7 separate regions of the Homo sapiens genome follow, and all the other regions are linked to region 3. Evidence: promoter capture Hi-C in 16 types of primary human blood cells and fetal thymus (Javierre and others, 2016). All regions are on one chromosome and are shown on one strand. The core of a region is centred on a gene start or on the middle of the fragment in contact, and the rest is flanking DNA. Distances in the headings are between cores, read along the strand shown.

Region 1 (3,205 bases), core at 458-2,957, 620 kb before region 3:
AAGCAGATATAAAGTAAAAGAGCCTTTTTTTGTTTTTTTCATTACAGAAACTTGGACATGTTTATATGTTGATGGCAAAGAGTAGAGCACAGAGTGAAGATTCAGGGATGAGGGGAGATCATTGATGGAGGCAGGTTCCTGAGGAGGCCAAGGAGGTGGGATGGAGACTGTATGGCAGGGGAAATCTACTCTTTCTCTTGCTGTAGTTACACCTCCCTGGGCTACCTCTCCCTCTTTCCTTTGCCTGTCAAAAAGCTATACATTATTTATTAAGACTATCTGGTATTGGCACAAAAGATGGACAAATAGATTAATAGAACCAAAAGGGCACCTGATTTATGACAAGGTAGCACTGAAGGGCAATGGGGAAAGGGCAATCGCTTCAGTAAACAATATTGGCAGCCAGACGTGGTGGCTCATGCCTGTAATCCCAGCACTATGGGAGGCCAAGTTGGACGGATCGCCTGAGGTCAGGAGTTCAAGACCAGCCCGGCCAACATGGTGAAACCCCGTTTCTACTAAAAATACAAAAACCACTGTAATCCTAGCTACTCAGGAGGCTGAGGCAGGAGAATCACTTGAACCCGGGAGGCAGAGGTTGCAGTGAGCCAAGATTGGGCCACTGCACTGCAGCCTGCATGACAGAGCAAGACTCCATCTCCAAACAAACAAACAAACAAACAAACAAACAATAAACAATATTGACTCAACTGTATCTGTTTGCAGAAATCTTAATTTCTACCTCATGCCATACCTGAAAATTATTTCCAGATAGAATGTGTATCTAAATATAAAAGGTAAGATAATAAAGCTTCTAGAGAATAATAACATAAGAAAGTATGTTACTGACTTTGAAGTAGAGAAGGTTTTCTTAGACTGGAAGCAAAAAGTATTAACTATTGATAAGGAAAAGATTAGCTACGCTAAAATTGGGGATTTATGTTCATCCCAAAAACATCACCATTAAGAAAATGAAAAGGTAAACTCATGAGTAGAAGATATTTGCAATACATATAACCAACAAAGGGCTCATATATAAAGAATTCCAGCAAATCAATAAGAAAAAGACAACTGAAAAATGGGCAAAACACCTGAACAGGCACTTTACAGAAGAAGATATCCAAATGGCCAATACACATATGAAAAAGTCTCATTGTTATTGGTCATCAGTGAAATGCATATTAAAACTATCTTAAAAGGCTGGCACCCAGGGTTGGCAGAGATGTGGAGTATTCTAATTTTCATACAATTCCAGTGAGAGTATAAATTGATGCAACCATTTTGAAAACTATTTGTCAGTATCTGTTAAAGCTGAACGTACACATACTCTGTGATCCAGCAACCCACGTGTGTATCTACACATGATTATGCATAGAAGCATTGTTCCTAAAAACCCAAATATCTTGTCTTCAACAAGAGAATAAATTAATTAAGAAATATGTATTCAGAGCCACAACAACATAGATGAATCACACAAACATAACGTTGAGTGAAAGAAGCCAAACACAAAAGAGTCTACTCTGCCTCATTTTTATGAAGTTCCAAAACTAGTCTACTGTGCAAAACTAGGCAAAACTAGTCTACTGTGTTGGAAAACAGAATAGCCATTATCTTTTAATAAGGAGTGTAGAAAATGACTAGGCATATGGTGGGCTTCTGGAATTGTGATATTCAATCTATTTAACTGTGTGGTAGTTATACTGGTGTGTTTATTCTTCAATAATTCATCAAGCTATATACTTCTAATTTGTGCACTTTTCTACATATGTGTTAAACTTTGATTAAAATGTTCATTGTGAAAAATTAAAGCTATTATTCTGTCATAAACAGTGTCATCCACATAAACATTTTGTACTTTTCTACTTACCTTACGTACATATCTAGTCATTTCTCTATTAATCTTGTTCTTCTAATTGGAAGTATGAGATTAGAGGCTGACTGCTACTTGTCTTTTGGTTTTCTGAGGGTCTTTGCACACAGCAGGTGTTTAATAAATGTTTACTGAATTGAAACTTTAAATGATATATTAGAACTCTCTCTGGGAAGTTTTCGGCAAACATGTCATCAAACAATTACTACTGATTCACCCTTCTTCACCAACTGATCCTCTCCTTTATAATGTCCTAACATGAGACAAACATCCACAAACACTAAACAATCTATTACTGTTGCTTTGGAACATAACTATTTTGAAAAAGTTTCTCTAAGTGTTGCAAATTTTTTTCTGGGTCCTGGACTGGTGGGTATATGATCTATGGGTATAATTTGTCCATATACAGAAGTCAGGGACAGCAGCAAAATAATTTTTAATTGTCAGAATATTAAATATGTATCTAAATGCTCTACTGAGAAGCCAAGCTGTCTGTTCACTAGAATAAATATCTTTTATTCTTCATTTAAAAAGATGCTCTTATCCACACTGCACCACAAGGCCATCTGCTCTAAGCTATTTCTTCTAGTAAGAGTGAAAATGTGATGGATCCATCCATCTCTCTCTTTTCAAGGCCCATGGTTATCATATGTTGCATGTGTTTGCAGGAAGTCTGATGTGAGTTAAGTATACCATTTGTGACCACAGACCATGGCTAAGATAAGAAGCTTCTGTAACATGTTGCTTAGGGATACACAAAACAAAACCAAAAAAAAAAAGTAAAATAAGAAGCTTCTGTAGAAAGGAATATATGAAGTTGGCCTCAAATACAACATATCCTAATCAATTGACCAAATCAGGTTTTGTTAACTATATTGCTGACAGCAACTTTTTTGTGCAACCTTGCCTTCTAAGAGAGTCCTCCCACTTTTACTGGAGTCTGGATTAGGTGACCTTTTCTGAGCTGTCACACCCCCCGGGGAAATAACACTGAACTGTAATTTTCTCTTTATTGGTCCATCTCCCCCTCTAGATTATGAGGACCTTGGAGATCACATCTTTTAAAAAAATATATCTCCAATTTCTAGCATCATATTTGGCACAAAGTTGGCATTTACTAGAATTACATATTTGAATGACAGTGTTAACTGCAGACTTGATCTGTCACATTCCTGACTTAACAAGGCTCCACTGTTAATATTTAGCCATGCCTGGAGACTAACTGTTAACTCACAAATCTGAATTTGTAGTGAGGTGTTTAATAGTAGAATTAAACTGAACATCTTGGAAGCAGAACGTGAAAGGGTATTGATTGCTAATCACATAAAATTAGAC
Region 2 (2,888 bases), core at 256-2,755, 540 kb before region 3:
GCAACAAAGTGAGACTCCATCTCAATAAATAAATAAATAAAATAGTATACCCATTCTGGAAAACAGTTTGGCAGTTTCTTATCCTGTATTCGAATGTTCATGACAACTTTATTCAAGATGGACAAAAACTGGAACGACCTGATGTCCTTCAACAGGTTAAAACACTGATGTATCCATATTATGGAATATTATTCAGCAATAAAAAGAACAAACTGTTGATGCACGCAACAACTTGGCTGAATCTCAAGGGCATTATGGTAAATGAAAGTCAATCCCAGAAAGTTATATGCCCTGTGATTCCATTTATATAACATCCTTGAAATGACAAAATTATAGAAATGAAAAACAGAGTAGTGGCTATCAGTGGTTAGGGATGGGTGAGGAGAAGGAAAAGCATGTAGTTATAAAAAGACAAAACAAGTTAATTTGCTAGTGGATGGAACTGTTTTACATCTTGACTATGGGAGGGACACACAAACCTATACACATGAAAAACTGCAAAGAACAAAATATACACATGTACAAATTAGTACAAGTAAAACTGGGGAAATCTGAATAAGATCTGTAGATCATATTAATGTCAACACCCTGGCTGTGATATTGTACTATAGTTTTGCAGGATATTACCATTGTGGGAAAATGGGCAAAGAGCACATGGGGTCTCTCTTTTTTTTAAAAAAAAAAACAATAGCATATGAATCAACAATTAGCTCAAAATAGAATCTTTATTTCTTTAAAAAAGGTATTTGTGATAATGCAGGTAAGAAATAATGACAACCTCAACTAGTATGAAAATGGAACGGAAGCAACACATTTTATAGCAGAATAATGAATGATAAACAGTCGAGTATGATAAATGACAATAGCATGTAGCTCTGGCCCACAGTTAACATAATCCTGAAAATATATTCTTACCCAATCACGGTGAGGCTGGGGAAGAAAACGCTATGACCTATATGGAAAACCCTACCTTTCTTATTGAACAGATACAAACATGCCTTGTATGACTGACTTCTAGAACTGCATAGACATTTTTTTCAAGACATAGTCTCCTACACCAGGGTTTCTCAACTTCAAGATTATTGGCACTTTGGGCTGTATAATCCTTTGTTGTGGAAGATGGCCTGTGAATTCTGCAATTCAGTTTAGCAATTCAATGTTTAGCAGTAACCCTGGCTTCTACCCACTAGATGCCAGCAGCAACCTCCTACTTCCAGTTGTGACACCCAAAAATGTCTCTAGACATTGCCATATGCTTCCTGGAGGGCCAAACTGACCCTGGTTGATAGCCACTGTGCTAGACTAGTAAAAACAAAGACCAATAACTCAAGTTTGGGAAATAGCTACAGATATATTTCTGAAAAGCCTGAGAATTTTAACTTTAAAAAAGGTCCATACACGACTCAAGACTGAGAAACAATACTGCAGGTTATACAAAGTTGAATGATAACCATAACTGCCCTCAGAAAGGTTATAACATAGAAAAACAAAATTAAACTACAATATAAAGTGATCAGGCAGTGAGAAGCAGCATTACATTATAGTTTAACACACTGGTGTAAGAAAGAAGCCTTCAGGGGACCCAGCACTCTAAAGGTTTATTTAATCCCTTTTTTAAGCCTATAAAAGCCGTAAGTGCTGGCTGAAAGTCCAAACACACTTCAGAAAACTTACATTGTGAAGACTCTCTCACACCCTTTATGCTAACACTAGGTGAAAAGAGGAAATAAAAAACAACAGAGTAAATAAATGTGGTCTAGGTTTTTGTACATACTTATCAGGCAAACTAATTTTAACCTTGACTCAGGAACCTTTATTCTCTAAGATAACATCTTCCTAAAAAGCATTTCAACATATATTATATATGTGGCAGATATTTTATTAATGCCATTAACAACTTAACAAAAAATAAACCTGGAGTCACTTGGAGAAAGTTCTAGCAAAGCAACTAACTATTCAAGTGAATGGGTGGATTTCTACCCAGCTTCCCCAAATTTCAGTGTCTTCCTCCTCCCTCTCATCTTATACAAGGAGTTTCTTAAACTGGGATCCACAGGCCTTTAGAAAGTATTTGAAACCGTTAAAACTCCAGTAAAATTTTGTGCATGTGCATTTTTCTAGGGAAAATACCCAAACCTTGACTCAGATTTTCAAAGGCTAAGAACAATTTCCAAAAAGTTCAAAACAATTGTTATACAATGTATGCAAGTTGTACCCTTTATTTTGACTACGATACAATCATAAGATCTCTTTTGTCATATCCTTATATTTTGTTGTAAGGATTCTAAACATCAAAAATTACTACTATTTTTAAAAAGCAACCCTCCTATGCTCTGGGGTTTCTCTTCTTTAAAAGTCACAGATTAAGCCCTATTTACTTGAGTACTCCATCCACACTTTAGCTGAGATGACAGGAAAACATTACAGAGCAAGAAATCATAACACTGCATCTACTGTAAAAAACCTCTCCTAGGATTGACACAATTTGTAGTATACAAAATTTTGGTGTACATAAATTGGCAAACCTATAAATTTACCTATAGTCTTGCAATAGTAACAACTGTCCATTAACATAAGAACACAATTATCTATGTTACAGAAGTGCCTCCTTGACACATACTTAACATTTACTATTAATCTGCTGCAGAAATGAGTAACTTCAATAATCTGTACTATGCTTTTACAAAATATTCAGTACGCTGCTATAAACACTAAGAAAAAGTTTGTATAGAAAGCCAAATTTAAATTAGCGAAAATGTATGCCACTGACATAATCTTTCCAATTAAGTCTTAACAAAATATATAAATCAGAAATATACTTTAAAAATTAACCATCTAATTACATTTCAATCTGAATTTGAAAAGCAATAAATCATGATCAAATGGAC
Region 3 (3,031 bases), core at 1-2,500:
ACAGCCTGGGTGACAGAGCGAGATTCCGTCTCAAAAAAAAAAAAAAAAACAAAAAAAAAAAGTTACTAGATGTTTTAAAAATAACAGCAACCAATTATTGAACACTAGTAAACACTAAGCTAAGTGGTTAGCTTGTGCAATTTGAATAACCATCTTATGAAAGAAGTTATCTCCATTTTACAGTTAAGTGAACTGAAGATTTGCTGTACAATCTGACCACTTTTTCCTGAGTTAAGGGGTGGGAGACCCGGCTAGTACCTACTTTTGTCTAACTCCAAAATCTAAGCGTCTACCCGCTACCAACTCCTGAAACTAAGGAATCACATGTTAGGAACTTCACAAATAAATTTTTAAAACACAAAACTATAATTTCAATAGTGTGCACTTGTCTGTTGGCATAAGTTCTTAATCAGGAATAGAATTAATATCCTATAATACCTGCTGTAGTAGATTTTCCGACTCCACCCTTTCCAGAAGCCACAACTATAACTTGTTTAACACCTTCTATCGGTTTCTGCTTTGGAAGTCCTCGGGACATGATTTGTGTTCTTCTTTGTTTTAGGGTCTCACTCCCGGCGCCAGACAACTTTAAAAAATAATAATAATAAAAAGCCGTTTTAAATAAGCCATCTCCATCATCACACTGTAAAAGCAAAAACAATCTGGGGTTTGCAATTAAGAGGGCTTTCTTTTCTAATTCTGCTCATCTTCACTATGGAGACATTTACCTACTACTACTGATAACAATTGTAAAGACACATTGCTTAAATTGAAATTTTTCTAGCAGGATACGCTGAACGTTTAAAAATGTAAAAACGCTGCCTCTTTACGGAGATAAGGCTTCCACGTGTTTTGCTTTTCTTCAATCTATTTGATAAATAACCCAAAGCCAAGAAAGCAATGTAGAATACCACATCTACGTTCTAACTGTGTTTCAAGTCCCGCCACGCCTCAGCCTGGGCCTGCCTGAAAAGTAGGCACGTCCAGCACACTGGGGGTCTCAGGAACTGAGGCGAGTCTTTGGCAAGAAGCAATGCCAGGGCATCTGCGGCCCTGCAGCCCAGCATCTGTCAGCCCGCTTCCCCCTGCCCTGCAGCACCACGGACCTGGCGCCCACAAACCATCGCTCGGCTTCCCCCAAGCGGGGCAGTGGCCCCGCCACCAGCCCGGAGCGACACCCCACCAAAAAGCAGCAGACGCTGCCAAATCCCCATGACGCGGAACGCTGCTGTGAGCCCTGCTGGGAAACTGTCGCGGGTGGCGCGGAGTGATGACGTCACGGAGCAACGCTCGGCTTTCTCTTCCTAGCAACCGGTCTTCTTTGGGTTTGTTGGCTCAGGAACCCAATCTGCATGATCTTGTTTATAGCCAGCTACAAACATTTTGCAGCGTTTTACTAAACGTTTGTGAAGTGTTGTCATATAAAACATCTCTTATGATACTTACAGAAGTCCCGAGGTAGACAGAAGACTTACCTAGTATACTCTTTTTATGGACAAGAAAACGGAGAAAGTTTAAAGAGACTTGACCCAGCTTAACAAAAGTAGGAAATGGGGGACCTTGAAAATGACCCCAGGATTTCTTACTAAGCAGTATATGGTCATTTAAATACTACCACCGTTAAGGATTTTACCTTTTTATTTTATTTTTTCCCGTGTGATCTACAGTGAGAGTCTGTTTTGCGTTGGTATTCATGGCTTGTGTTGCTGACAGTTCCCTGAAAGAAAGGTCAGGTTGCTTTACCAGCAACCTGGTAAAGAACTTTGCAAGTTCTTCCAGACTTAAGACTCATTTATTTAACAAATATTCGTTGAGCAACTACTATGTACCGAGTACTACAGTAGACTTAAAATATTCAGCATTGAGACCGACATAATTCCTCCACTAAAGGGCTTTATAATCCAGTGCAAAAGACAGAATAAGTTAACAACAAAATTGCGGTATAATATGATAAGTACAGGAGAAAAGCATTGAGGGATACAGGAGAAAGGACAAAGTGATACAAAGAAAGGGCACTCAATTCAATCAGGGGAAGCTTCTAAATTAGGTAATATCTAAGCTGAATGCTGAATCTGAATAATGTGTAGAAGTTAGCTGGGAGAATGGCAAGGAGATTGTTGTAAAGAGGTTAGAAATGGACTGCTAAGGCTAGGCATGGTGGCTCACGCGTGTAATTCCAACACTTTGGGAGGCCAAAGCAAGAGGATTGCTTGAGCCAGGAGTTCAAGGATGCAGTGAGCTATGATTGCACCACTGCACTCCAGCGTGGGCAGCAGAGTGACACCTTGTCAGAAGAAGAAGAAAGAAGGAAGGAGGAAGGAGGAAGAGGAAATTAAAAGGAGAAGAAAGAAGAAGGAAGAAGAAAGAAGAAGAGAGTAGAAGGAAGAAAGATGAAAGAAGAGAGAAAAGCCCCCGCCCGGCCAGCTGCCCCGTCCGGGAGGGACGTGGGGGGCAGCCCCCATCCGGTCAGCCGCCCCGTCCCGGAGGGAGGTGGGGGGCAGACCCCGCCCGGCCGCCACCCCGTCCGGGAGGTGGAGTCACCTCTGCCCGGCCACCCCGTCTGGGAAGTGAGGGGCCCCTCTGCCCAGCCGCCACCCTGTCTAGGAGGTGTACCCAACAGCTCATTGAGAACGGGCCATGATGACGATGGCGGTTTTGTCGAATAGAAAAGGGGGAAATGTGGGGAAAGGAAAGAGAGATCAGATTGTTACTGTGTCTGTGTAGAAAGAAGTAGACATAGGAGACTCCATTTTGTTCTGTACTAAGAAAAATTATTCTGCCTTGGGATGCTGTTAATCTATAACCTTACCCCCAACCCCGTGCTCTCTGAAACATGTGCTGTGTCCACTCAGGGTTAAATGGATTAAGGGCGGTGCAAGATGTGCTTTGTTAAACAGATGCTTGAAGGCAGCATGCTCGTTAAGAGTCATCACCACTCCCTAATCTCAAGTACCCAGGGACACAAACACTGCGGAAGGCCGCAGGGTCCTCTGCCTAGGAAAACCAGAGACCCTTGTTCACATGTTTATCT
Region 4 (3,019 bases), core at 409-2,908, 670 kb before region 3:
GGTAAGCTCCAGGTTTTCAGTTTCCTAAACAGGGCCTGGGCTACTGCAATGATTCTTCATGCAGTCATGATTGAACTCTTGTTTCTAGGAGACTGAAGCAGGCTTCTAATAGCCACCAGTTATCAAGTACATGTTATGTTGATAGTTTATCTCTATTTATCACTATTTACGTTGATAGGTTATCCCTATTTTACAGAGAAGGAAGTTGAAGCACAGAGAAGTTGAATAATTTCTGCCTGCAGTCACATCATTAGTAAGTAGTAGAGCAGGCTTTCAACTCAAGCGTGTCTGATCTTTAAAATAATAATGGTGGGTTCTTATATAGCATTAAGTGCCAGGCACTGGTCTAAACACTGTAAATACTAACTTACTCAATCTTCACAATAACCCTAGGAGAAAGGTACTATTTTTACCACTGCCACTATACAGATGAGAAAACTGAGGGGTAAAGTTCAGCAACTCTTTTAAAGTTGCAAAGCTAAAAACTGGCAGCACCAGAATTCAAACCCAGGCAGGCTGGTTTTAGCATCCATACAGGCCTTACCCACTGCCCATACTGCCCCCTCTTGCTCTCTGTAACTGGTTCTTTCTATAATCATTCATTCAAATATTGCTTAGGCCCCTACTATGTACCTAACACCTTACCAGGAATTGAAGAAAGATTACCAGTATTTGACAGGATACCTCCCTCAGAGAGCAGTAATCTAGATGGGCAAAACCAGTGAAAGAATATAAGAAGGCTGTTACTAAAATGTGAGGTGAGGCAATGCATGCTAGGGTACCAGGAGGACTTGAGCACTGGCACAGACAGGAGGGCCTCACAGAGCACTGAAGGTGAGTTTCCAGTAGGGAGAATAACATGTGAGCAAAGATGAAAGTGAAGAGAAGGACTGCAGGAGGAAGGAGGTAACCCCTTCCCATGCCAGGCTCTGCATTCCTGTTTCACATGTATTATGTATCTCATTTAGTCCTCCTGCAGGCCTATGAAACATCCTTAAAAAAGAAAATGAGGTGCAGAAATTCCAGCAATTCATACATGATCACACAACAACCAAGTGACAGAGCTAGGTTTGTCTGCCTCCGACACCCTTTCTCTAAACCTGGAACCTTTTCACACAAGCAAATGCCAACCGATGAGGCCAGGGTAATAGGCAAACGTTGACAGGGCCAGGAAGAATCTAACCATTCTGATTTCTAGAACCCTTAATGGGCTCTTTGTCTTTCTTCCATTCCCCAGAGGAGGAGTACCTGCATTTTCAACTTAGAAATCTCCTCCTACGGTGTTCCCACTGCAAATAAGCTTCCTCTCTACAGACTGACAAATAGTGATTTGCCTATTTGCAGCCCTCTAAAGCCAGCCAAGCCAACCAGAGAATGGGCCTGGCTAAAGCAGGCTCTGGCTCGTGGATCCAGTTGGTGAGGGGATACAGGCCAGGCTTAGGGAAACTCAAGGATCCCCTAATACAGCTCCTTTCCCTCCTAACAGGGAAAAACTGAGGCCCAGAGAAGGGCATGAGTCACTCAAGGCTGTACATTCCCCTATCCCCAACACACACAAAAAAATTCTTAACCCCATAAAAGTGCTTTGGCAAGCAGGGATCTGAAATTCCTGCAACAGCTTGGGGAGGAGGTAACTAAGAATCTGCCTTCCCACATAGTCTGTCTTTAGACTCCAGTGCTGCTAAGAGTAACAAGTACAAATCTGTTTACTTAGCAAGGTTGAGGCTTGACTCAAATTTTGTGTTGTCAGGATGGGGATGGGGGTGGAAGGGCATCTAAATGTGAATCATTAGATCTTAATCAGCAACGTGGGGAGTGGGATGTTTTGGGAAAGTGTACCTTCTTGAGCACCTTGGACTTGCTTTATTCCCTCTCCAAGGAAAGTAGGCCTGATGGTACAGCAACCCCTTGCAGCCTCTTATAAGAGGCTCATAGTACTCATCACTGCCTATAACAGAAATATAGATGTTGTGATGCTTCTGCCTGTACCCTTAGGTGGCCCTCTAAACAAGCTTTAAGTAGTACACCTAACTGCAGCAAAGGAGAATCTGCTGGTCAAAGAGCAAAAGCAGCACCTATTACTTCATTGTCAGAGTGTTTAAAATGTGTATCAAGGTCATTACTCATCAAATTTTCCCTCTGGGAACAGATAAAGTCCGTTGTTCTTTCTAAGGCCAAACGACTGTGTGCTGCCTGCCATTAATATTTCCTGTCACTCTTCAATTCCATTTTCACTAATCATCACATTAGACCATAGCCAAAAGACGTAACTTTAAAAAAATGTGCTTACCTTAATGTGCTCAGAGTATTTATAGGTCAATTTCCCTGCTGGTTACTATTAGCATAGTTTTATAATGTATAAAGAGTATTTCTTCTCATTCTCTTTAACATTAGGTAAAATCCTCAGAGGGAGCAGAACCTAGATATGTTTAAATAAAACAGACCAATGACCTAGGGCTATAGCATTCACACAGCAGTGGTTTGATATGCTTTTTCCCCCCCCTATTCTAGGACTTACTGACCAAAAGCACACTGAATTATTTAGGAACCTAGAGACTGGATGACCCAAAGGTGAGGAAGGTGGACCTTTCCCTCTGTCTTTAAATTCTCTATTCCCCAAGTATGCCTCTCTGTGTTTGCCTTCTAGCTCTCTGGCTACTCACAGTTAGGTTTATTTTGTACCTCCCTTTCTGCCAAGACAATAAATGTTGGTATTTCCTTGAAAAAATGCATCTACTCCCATATCTATTCCCATATCTACATCATAAACTCCCAAATTTGTACTTCAATTGATAGCTCTCTTCAGAACTTCAGGTCCATTCATCCAACTGCCACCTACACATCTCTAGGATGTCCCACAAGCTCCTCAAACTCCAACTGTAGAAAACTGAACCCACTGTTTTCTCTACCACCTTTCCTCACCCATTTCTTTCTATGGTCCCTGTCTTATTGATGGCACCACACTCCATCACTGCCCAAATCAAAGACCTGGGAATCATGCTTCACCCTTTGCTCCTCC
Region 5 (3,172 bases), core at 448-2,947, 690 kb before region 3:
AGGCTGGTCTCAAATTCCTGGTCTCAAACAATCCTCCTGTCTCAGCCTCTCAAAGTGCTGGCATTACAGGCTTGAGCCACCGCACCCGGCCTCCTGCATTTCTAAAATTTCTAAACCCAATGAAAACTTTCACTAATCTTCATCACATGCACCTATAAGGGTGTAGTTACAAATTGTCTTTTCTAAAGAAACCCATGGATTTTACATTGCCTCTTTCCAAGGAGAAAAGTCATACAGTATCCAAAGTTACACAACGGGTCAGGAGAACAGCCCAGAATACCTGTCAGTGTCTCTCGATTGAAGTGTTTATTCACAGAAGCAAAGTCATGTTTAAAGCTGAAAAAGTATTTCCTAAAATATACTCTAGTTGAATATTTCAGGTACAATAGTAAGTAGGTCACTTGCTCTCTAGGATTCAAAGAATATGGGCCTGCATTACTCTGTTTCTGCCCTGAACAGGAAAGTTAAAAGGAAACACTGCACAACAAGAAAATCCACAGCACACAGCTATTTAAGCAGCTGTGGCTTGGGGGTCAGGTCTATCACTGAAAGCTTTATAGATAATCTTCAAAACTAATTTGACCCACAAAAGTAAAACCAACTGGGCTTTCCCAAAAAATCTGCAAAAACCATATTCATAGTATCACCCTCCCTTCCAGATAATTTATAGTCAGAAATTGAACCCAAGAATAAATGCCCTAGAAATATTTTTTTAAATAGCCTAAATTTGACTGTCAAATCATGTTCCTTCTCCATGTTTTTTTTCAGTGTCTAATCTGGTCCTACTCCTACCCCCAAATAATTTTCCAGGGGTCCCAGGGGTGCCCCATGCTCTACACACCTTCTTTTTTTTTTTTTTTTTTTGAGATGGAGTTTCGCTCTTGTTACCCAGGCTGGAGTGCGATGGCACAATCTTGGCTCACTGCAACTTCCGCCTCCCGAGTTCAAGCAATTCCCCTGTCTCAGCCTCCCAAGTAGCTGGGATTACAAGCATGCACCACCACGCCCGGCTAATTTTGTGTTTGTAGTAGAGACGGGGTTTCTCCATGTTGGTCAGGCTGGTCTCAAACTCCTGACCCCAGATGATCCGCCTGCCTCGGCCTCCCAAAGTGCTGGGATTACAGGTGTGAGCCACCGCACCCGGTCCTACATCTTCTTGGATGCTATCTGCCACACAAAATAGAATAAGAGCTAGAAGGGACCTGACAGGAATACAGCTACTTCTATAGATAAGGAAAACTTGGTCCTGAAACAAACTCACCAAGGCTACAGCTTGCTAGTCCCAATATTGTAATTCCACCCCCCAGTGTCCCATCCCTCTAGGTCTCATCAGGTCATTCATTTTCACTAGAAGTAAGTGTAGGTCAAAGCAACTGGATTCATTACTACTCCTCTCAGAAAACAACTAACAAGGGGTTTTGGTTGAGAAATTTCAGAAAAAAACTGGTTGGTTGGTGGGGAACAATTTTGAACGATGGGTACTTTCCATGTCCTCAAATCACATTCTGCCTGTAAATAAATCACACTTCAAAAATACAAACATAAGAACTGATCTGTAGTGACCCGCTTATTGGCAACTGTAAAGAATGTAAGCTGCATGAGGAGAGAAACTCTGTTTTATTCACATCTGTATTTCCAGTATGTAGAATAGAAGCTGGCACTGAATAGCAGCTCAACAGCAAATATTCGTTAAATGAACAAAATGAAGAAAGCATCCCTCTTTTCTTCTCTCTATAGTCCATCCCCACCCCCATTTTGTTCTCTTAAGGTCTAGTTTCCTTAATCAAAACTATGTTCTGAGGTAAATATCTACCTGTCATTTATACTTTCGTAGCCTTTAAGTCACTGCTTGGAGTGTTTGGAATTTCAGTTTCACATCTAACAAAAGGCTTTGAACCCCCATCGCAGGTCTCCAGTCTCAGCCAACAATGGAAGGCCTTTGTGGCCAGGCCTTTCTGCACATATGGCCAAGATTTGGATTCTTTGGAAGAATAGCAAACTATTCATTGGAACAGCTCCCTTCCCCAGTGACCTCTTGATTCCCTCCTGTGGCTCTCCTTAGCCTTCATATCCTTGTAAAGTAATCTAAAACCCTATCTTCCTGCTGTCTTTATCTTCCTTTCTCAGCTGTCAAAACCTGGAAGACATGCTGCTGTTGCATATTTAGCCTCAACTATATTGTTTAATAAATGCCAAGTTGCCAGTTTCTCACACTCCACTCTATGAAGCCAGAACACCTCACCTTACTGAGTTAACCAGGAACCCATGCTCACCCTATAATACACTAGGGGGTGCTGTTGCTATATCCAGACCCAGTTGCTGTAGCCCGACTGGAAACAGGAAAAGGAAACAAGGGAGCCTTCAGGGTCCTGAGAGACATTTCTAGATGGGCCACTCTCTGCACAAGCCCTCAGCACAGTTCCTCAGAAGCAAAGAACATTATACCTTACCAAGCCACACAATTCCAGAATGAAGTTCACAAATGGTACAAAAAGAAGGGAGGGCTGAAGATCTCCAAGCGAAAGGCTTTATTGTAAGACTCATTAACATACATGGGCCTACACAATCATATTTATGCCAGCTGCTAGATGTGAATAATTAATGCTCACCCTGCTACCAGTTAAAACTCTGTTTAGACAATCAAGTGGCAAATACTGTCAGGCAGAATCGGATACAACAAATGCAATCATAACAGGCGAGAAATACTTGAGTTTATCACTGATTTTCACAATCATCTTTCCTTGTATGTGATATCTAAGACTTTGGGAATGAAAGTTTTATATACAAACAAATGAGTATCCACCTCTCTCAGCCCGCGGCTTGGCTGCTGCACAAAGCTTCCAAGCTGCCAGGGAAGCCTCCTTGGCCTCACTTAACTCTTTGCTGAAATGACTGGTAGACCCCATATGACAGAGAAAGCTCTCACATACATCAAAAAGGCTTTTGGCCTTTCAAATTTCTGAATAAGTCATCATGAAAAAAGAAATATTTTGTTGGGTTTGTGGATTTTTTTAAGATAAGTTTTAAAATGTGCATTTTAAAAAAATTATCTGAACGAGACCCTCACCTAACAGTGTGAACGTTAAACATTCCCACACAGAGAAGAATGGATCTCCACCAAGGGAAATATGTCTGGTATTAATCCAAGAAGAAACAATCTAGCTCACCCTCC
Region 6 (3,080 bases), core at 521-3,020, 950 kb after region 3:
TGAAAAATTATATAGCACTAGGTAAGACTAGCTACTAGGGAGGCTGAGGTGGGAGGCCTGCTTGAGGCCAGAAGTTCAAGAACATCCTGGGCAACACAGCTAGCCCCCCTCTAAAGAAAAAAAAAAAAGGCCTGGTGTGGGTGGTATACACCTGTAGTCCTAGCTACTCTGGAAGATGAGGTAGAAGGATTTTGAGCCCAGGAGTTGGAGGTTCAGTGAGCTATGATCACACCAATGTACTCCAGCCTGGGTGACAGACTGAGACCTTATCTCTTAAAAAGAAAAGAAAAAAAAAGAGAAAAGTTACCTAGTACTAGATAGGCAAGAAAGATGACCTGAGAATTCATGAAAAAGAGTAACAGCTGAGAATTAAAAGATGGACAGAATTTTATCAAGAATATTTTAGTGAACAGCATAAACAAAGAAATACTTGGCCATTTATGTGCAAGACACTTTCATACAGGTTAGCTCTTAAAGGTACAGATGGAGAAAGTTAAAAATAGGAAACAATCCATTAACAGAAAATTTACTTGCAATTTCCTTTTCCTAAAACATTCTTAGAGATTTACATGACTTCTTTTCATTCATTCAAAATCTCTGCTGAAATCTCCTAAGTTTTTCATGACTATTCTGCTCAAAATACTATCTTTACACCCTGTCGGAGTAATAATTGGGTATATGTTGCCTCATCCCTGCAAACCCTCAACCCTGAGTTTCAGCTGGGCACATAGCCAAACTTTTGCTGCAGCTAGGTGGGGCTACATGACTGTTCAATGGGATGTAAGTAAAAACAACATGTCAAACTTCCCTGCTCTCAACTTCCACTTTTCTCCTTTAAGAGCAAGCTTCAACCATGTGGATGCAAACAATAATGCTAAGTGTTACACGATAATGAGAGGAAGGAACTCAAGTCCTTAGACGGTTTTGTAAATCACAACTCTATCTCGAAAACAGAGGGCCATCTGTATAAAGGGCCAGATAGCATTTTATGCTTTTCAAACTATATGGTATCTGTTGCAGCTACTCAACTCTGCCACTGTAGCGTGAAAGCAGTCAGATCAGTAGCAAATGGGCATGGCTGCATTCCAATGTAACTATTTACCAAACAGGCAACAAGCCAGAACGTGACTTACAGGCCATTTTTTGCCAACTCTTACCCTAAAATCTAGACAATGGATTTTACAGAACAGTAAACATCTGCCTTGTTTGAGCCACTGTCTTTCTGGGTCTATGAGATACAGAAGTTTAGCCTAAAACCTAACTTGTATATACTCCAACCCTTATCCATCTCCTTTTATTCTGTTGTATGTATGCATGTATGTATTTATGTATACATTTATTTATTTGGGATGGAGTCTCACTCTGTTGCCCATGCTGGAGTGCAGTGGCATGATCCCGGCTCACTGCCACCTCTGCCTCCCGGGCTCAAGCGAGCCTTTCAAGCAGCTGGGACTATAGGCGCGCGCCACCACACCTGGCTAATTTTTTTGTATTTTTAGTAAAGATGGGGTTTCACCATGTTGGCCAGGCTGGTCTCGAACTGCTGACCCCGGTGATCCACCCACCTGTTCTCCCAAAGTGTTGGGATTACAGGCGTGACCCACTGCGCCCGGCCATATTCTGTTTTATTTAGCATTATAATACATTTTACTACGTGATGGCATATTACATTTGTTGTTTATCTTCTGTGTTCTCTCTTAATGTAAATTCCAAGAAGGCAGATACTTTGCTTCACTACTCTATCTTTAGTAACAAAACAGTACAGAATACATAGTATTTCTTAAATAAATGAACAAACACTGGATAAAAAGTACAGAAACTGGAGTAGATAAAGCCATGAAGAGAGGTGAAGGTCTTAAATGCCCTAATGAAGAGCTTCAACTTCGTTCAACAGGCAATGAGAAGCCACTGGGGGATTCCTGAGGAAGAAAGCAATATGGTCAAAACTGTACTTTTGGAAGAATCATCCCAAATAAGAATATTAGAACAACATTCTAATTGTCTAAGCCTAGGGAAAATTTGAGTTTGGTAAAATAGGCACACTAGAAACAGGAAGGAAAGGTTGACAATAAGTCAGTCTTAGAGGCAGGTGACTTGACATATAACTGGAAAATGGAGGAGTATGAAAATGACTCTCCAAGACAGCTTGGAAGTAAGAAGTCTCTTGGAAAGAAAAGGCAAACAGGTAAAAACACAAAAAAGCCCCACAAAAAACAATCAAACAAAAAATTCTGGGAAAAATACTATTTTTATCTTAAACATGTTAGACTCAATGTGCTAGCAAGACCCAGGTCTTATCTGTATATAAAAGTCCGGGGGCTCAAAAATACAGGTCTGTAAATCATTCAGAAAGATTACAGGAGAGAAGAAGCTCTCCAAATAATAAAGAATGATGACTGTTAAGACAACACTGAAAAATGCTAAGTTTCAGGGGTAAGAAGAAGTAAGAAGCATTAAAGAAGAGAGAATCATCAGAAGTAGGAGGAAGTACAATATTAAATAAAATATTGCAGAGAAATTCTAAGTGGTAATTGCAGAAGTCACAGCAGATGAAAAATTAGAAAAGGCCTTTGGACATGGATATTTAGCTCCCTGGATATAAACTATGAACTAGCTAACTTGAGACTGGTGGTAGGGACAGAAGCCTGATTACAAGAAATAAATAGGAAATACGAAGTAGAGACAATGAAGCTTAAATATACTTTTTTTTTAGTAAAGAGGGCACAAAAAGAAAAACGAAGAATTAAAGGGTCAATTTAAAACATGATGTTAGGATAAGCAGTCTTAGGGCAAATAAACAGAATTGTTGTAATACACTGTAGCAACTCACACTTCAATAGTGCTTACTGTGTGATTTAGAAACTGAGGTTTAGTAAGATTAATATGCCCAAAGTGACACAACATATAGTAGTTATAAGAGTTGGCATTCAAAGTAAAATCTGACTTCCAAGCCTGTGCTTTTTTTTTGAGACAGTGTCTCCCTCTGTTGCCCAGGTTGGAGTGCAGTGGTGTGAGCTCAGCTCACTGTAACCTCCATCTGCCGGATTCAAATTATTCTTGTGACTCAGCCTCCAGAGTAG
Region 7 (2,907 bases), core at 210-2,709, 910 kb before region 3:
CAGATGTTGAACCATGTGAGACTACCATTCAATTGCCTTTGACCCACAAAAACAGCAATTTCATATGGTTCACTTATTCTACGTTGGATGGAAGTGGTCTAGGAAGATTTGAGGGGTTAAGGAAGTGGCTCCATAAAGAGAAGATATTTATTCCTTGTTAATGAATTTCACCTCCTCCAAGTTGTTGTGTCACAAAACGAAACACGTGTTGAGGAAGTAGAATCGCTTCATGTGGAAAGAATTAAATTCTCTTAGCATTGATGAAAAAAGACAGTGGGCTGGGCACCGTGGCTCACACCTGTAATCCCAGCACTTTGGGAGGCCGAGGCGGGTGGATCACCTGAGATCAGGAGTTTGAGACCAGCCTGGCCAACATAGTGAAACCCCGTTTCTACCAAAAATACAAAAATTAGCCAGGCACGGTGGTGCATGCCTGTAATCCCAGCTACTTGAGAGGCTGAGGCAGGAGAATCGCTTGAACCCAGGAGGTGGAGGCTGCAGTGAGCTGAGATCGTGCCACCGCACTCCAGCCTGGGTGACAGAGATCCTGTCCCAAAAAAAGAAAAAGAAAAAGAAAAAAAGACAGTGATGCTCACATTGAGAACAGCAGCAGATCCATGACCCAGCTGTATGAGGTGTCAAGGAAGTGTAACTATTAACCAAACGAAGAAAACAGTGGTGTCCTGCCCAATGTGCTGGGATGAAAGCCACATATGTGGTGGATGAACAAGTTATTCTGAGAAACAAGACCAGGCAGTTACCTACCATCTAAAGCACTAGAATGTCAGTCCCCCCGCACCTCCCGGTAATCCACACCCCTTCAAATGAACCTTGTCCTGGCAGGTTTACTAGAGTTGCAAAATGCTTGGATCTGCAGGAATGCAAGCAGCAAGCACCTCACCCCACTAATTTGGCATTTCAAGCTCTTCTTCCTTTCTCTCTTTCTGCTTTGGAATTTTCATTAGAGTATGACATTTGACTCATTCTGAGAGCAAACATTATATTTTCTGGCTTTTCTAATTTGAAAAACAGATGGTCTCCTCACTGGCCCTAGGGAAAAAAGAAAAACTTGTTTTAACAATTTCATCTGGCTTCTACTTCTCATTTTCTAGTTTTCAAACATGTAATTCTATTATTACCTGTTGTATGTGAGGCTGTGGGCAGCCTCTGAAGTAGTAGGCTTCCTGCACAGCACTATGTCTGAGGGCCACACCTCATTCTCTCCCATCTTCACTGCAGTCCCCATCCCCATTGCCCACAAAAAGCAAAGTAAAAAATAACTCTAAATTATCATCTATGTTATAAGTATTGCTTCAAAACTTGTGATAAGAAAGCTGTAGGTCAGTCTTAGAGAAAATACAAAAACACAGAAACTGTTTTTCACATTATAGCTCCAACATTCCACAGGGATTTATATTTAGGCAAATATGTGTGTTTGGGTGAGCTTCTGGGCTCAACTTTAATCATTCTGAGAGAGAAAGAATCCAACCAGTTTAAACTAGATTTTCACTCTTTGTAACCCATGTGGCATTCCAAACATTTCTAAGCATTAGGATTACATCATTTTCTCTTTTTTTTTCCTTTAATACAAACAGCCATTATATTCTATTTTCACGACCTTTAAGTTCCCAATATCAAATTACCCAGCTGTTGTTTCAATCTCTCTTAGTTGCTAAGAGATGGTGATGGTGGCAGACCAGACCGATTTTCTTCAACATAGAATTGCAAGCTGACATAAGAGGGAACTAAATTCAGCCAGAGCACAATGAGCCCAACAGTTGGCAGCCAGGCTGTGTGTCTTTTCCCAGCTGCAGGAGACAGTTGGTGCAGAGAACCTCGTTGCCATCTCCCTGCCAACATCACTGCCATGTTTTCATGCATTCTCCACAATGCCTCTCAGCAAAGAGGGGCATTGCCATTTGCATTACAGGGATCAGTCTGCTGTAATATCGCCTCTCCTAGAATTAAGTTCTGTGGCTAAAGACCATGATCTTTTCTGGGTCAAGCCATTCTTTAGTAATAATAGAGAAAACACTTCTATTGAATGCGGTGGACAGCATTTATACTTGCCCTCCTCCTACCCCACCTTATGATCAAGACACTTATTTACCCCACCTGCTAAGCAGTGTTGACTGCTTATTGCTCTCAGCTGAGACCCTCCCTGGGACTTGCCCTCAGCTGCCTCACCCAAGGTCATGCCCTTCCCTGGGAGCTTTCCACATCCCATGTCTGCTAAATGGGAGGAGGTATAAAGCCTGGGGGAAAAGGGGAGCCACTTTAGAGTTCTGGGTAGGAATACTGCCATCTCTGTCACAGCTGCAGTTCAACTCCTCTCTCTGGTTGATTTACTTCCCTCACCTCTCAGAGGTGCTTTTCCCAAGAACTCACCCCAATAAACCTCCAGCATGTAGATCTCAGAGCCTCAGAATCCGATTCCTGGGAACCCAAACTATGACAAAAAGTAAATTCTCAAACCTCTCTTTTATCTTAAGGAACAATCCACTAGGTTTCTGTGTGCTGAAGTCTGAAAGAAATCTCATAGGGACTATTTTTCTTGGTTTACTCACAATTGTGCCAGCACAAAAATCCTGACCCAGAATGCTTAACACGCTGCGTTATCTGTGCTTCCTTAGCACAGATAACACAGTGTCCAGTGTCTTATTAGCCAAACTCCAGTCTAGAAGCAATGTCAACAGAATTACTGTTAAAATGGAGGTGAGACAGATAATAAAAACAGTTTATACCATGGATGGAGGTACATGTCTCAATGAACAATAACTGTGCAATGAAGATATTAGCTATAGCCCTGGTGGGGGGTACAGGATTCCACCTACCCAAATTGGGTGAGAGAATGTTGAAAGGGTTTACAATGAAAATTGAGTAAATGTATAATACACTTAGGAGAAA

Evidence for each region. Contacts are between HindIII fragments. The CHiCAGO score rates a contact against its expected background, and 5 or more counts as called.
Region 1: a contact is called between a fragment that was not itself captured here and the fragment with the promoter of NUBPL in region 3, in 1 of 17 cell types (total B cells). The highest score is 7.5, in total B cells.
Region 2: a fragment that was not itself captured here is called in contact with the fragment with the promoter of NUBPL in region 3 in 3 of 17 cell types (naive CD8 T cells, total CD4 T cells and naive CD4 T cells); the score reaches 9.9 in naive CD8 T cells.
Region 4: a fragment that was not itself captured here is called in contact with the fragment with the promoter of NUBPL in region 3 in 5 of 17 cell types (naive B cells, total CD8 T cells, naive CD8 T cells and 2 more); the score reaches 7.0 in naive B cells.
Region 5: a contact is called between a fragment that was not itself captured here and the fragment with the promoter of NUBPL in region 3, in 16 of 17 cell types (total CD8 T cells, naive CD8 T cells, total CD4 T cells and 13 more). The highest score is 16.1, in total CD8 T cells.
Region 6: a fragment that was not itself captured here is called in contact with the fragment with the promoter of NUBPL in region 3 in 1 of 17 cell types (monocytes); the score reaches 5.0 in monocytes.
Region 7: a fragment that was not itself captured here is called in contact with the fragment with the promoter of NUBPL in region 3 in 5 of 17 cell types (M1 macrophages, erythroblasts, M0 macrophages and 2 more); the score reaches 6.6 in M1 macrophages.

The regions. Positions count from the first base shown.
Region 1 is chr14:32,183,203-32,186,407 of GRCh38, reverse strand. No RefSeq gene overlaps it. Among named protein-coding and RNA genes, the nearest start is that of RNU6-7, 17 kb to the left of the region's middle. The HindIII fragment of the contact is 1,787 bases long and covers 814-2,600 here.
Region 2 is chr14:32,103,275-32,106,162 of GRCh38, reverse strand. The region is part of intron 2 of ARHGAP5 (Rho GTPase activating protein 5); the gene reads right to left. Among named protein-coding and RNA genes, the nearest start is that of ARHGAP5, 27 kb to the right of the region's middle. The HindIII fragment of the contact is 5,331 bases long and covers 1-2,888 here.
Region 3 is chr14:31,559,623-31,562,653 of GRCh38, reverse strand. It overlaps NUBPL (NUBP iron-sulfur cluster assembly factor, mitochondrial), which reads right to left and starts at 1,250. Exons shown (of 11, transcript NM_025152.3): 1 at 1,107-1,250; 2 at 439-586. The coding sequence starts at 1,214. It overlaps NUBPL-DT (NUBPL divergent transcript), which reads left to right and starts at 1,323. Exons shown (of 3, transcript XR_943720.2): 1 at 1,323-1,543. RefSeq lists enhancers at 526-1,081, 1,008-1,407. The HindIII fragment of the contact is 6,263 bases long and covers 1-2,037 here.
Region 4 is chr14:32,229,457-32,232,475 of GRCh38, reverse strand. No RefSeq gene overlaps it. Among named protein-coding and RNA genes, the nearest start is that of RNU6-8, 28 kb to the right of the region's middle. The HindIII fragment of the contact is 712 bases long and covers 1,303-2,014 here.
Region 5 is chr14:32,251,390-32,254,561 of GRCh38, reverse strand. No RefSeq gene overlaps it. Among named protein-coding and RNA genes, the nearest start is that of RNU6-8, 50 kb to the right of the region's middle. The HindIII fragment of the contact is 2,285 bases long and covers 555-2,839 here.
Region 6 is chr14:30,608,869-30,611,948 of GRCh38, reverse strand. All of the region lies in intron 12 of G2E3 (G2/M-phase specific E3 ubiquitin protein ligase), which reads right to left. Among named protein-coding and RNA genes, the nearest start is that of SCFD1, 12 kb to the left of the region's middle. The HindIII fragment of the contact is 1,846 bases long and covers 848-2,693 here.
Region 7 is chr14:32,471,567-32,474,473 of GRCh38, reverse strand. All of the region lies in intron 2 of AKAP6 (A-kinase anchoring protein 6), which reads right to left. Among named protein-coding and RNA genes, the nearest start is that of AKAP6, 140 kb to the right of the region's middle. The HindIII fragment of the contact is 4,486 bases long and covers 1-2,907 here.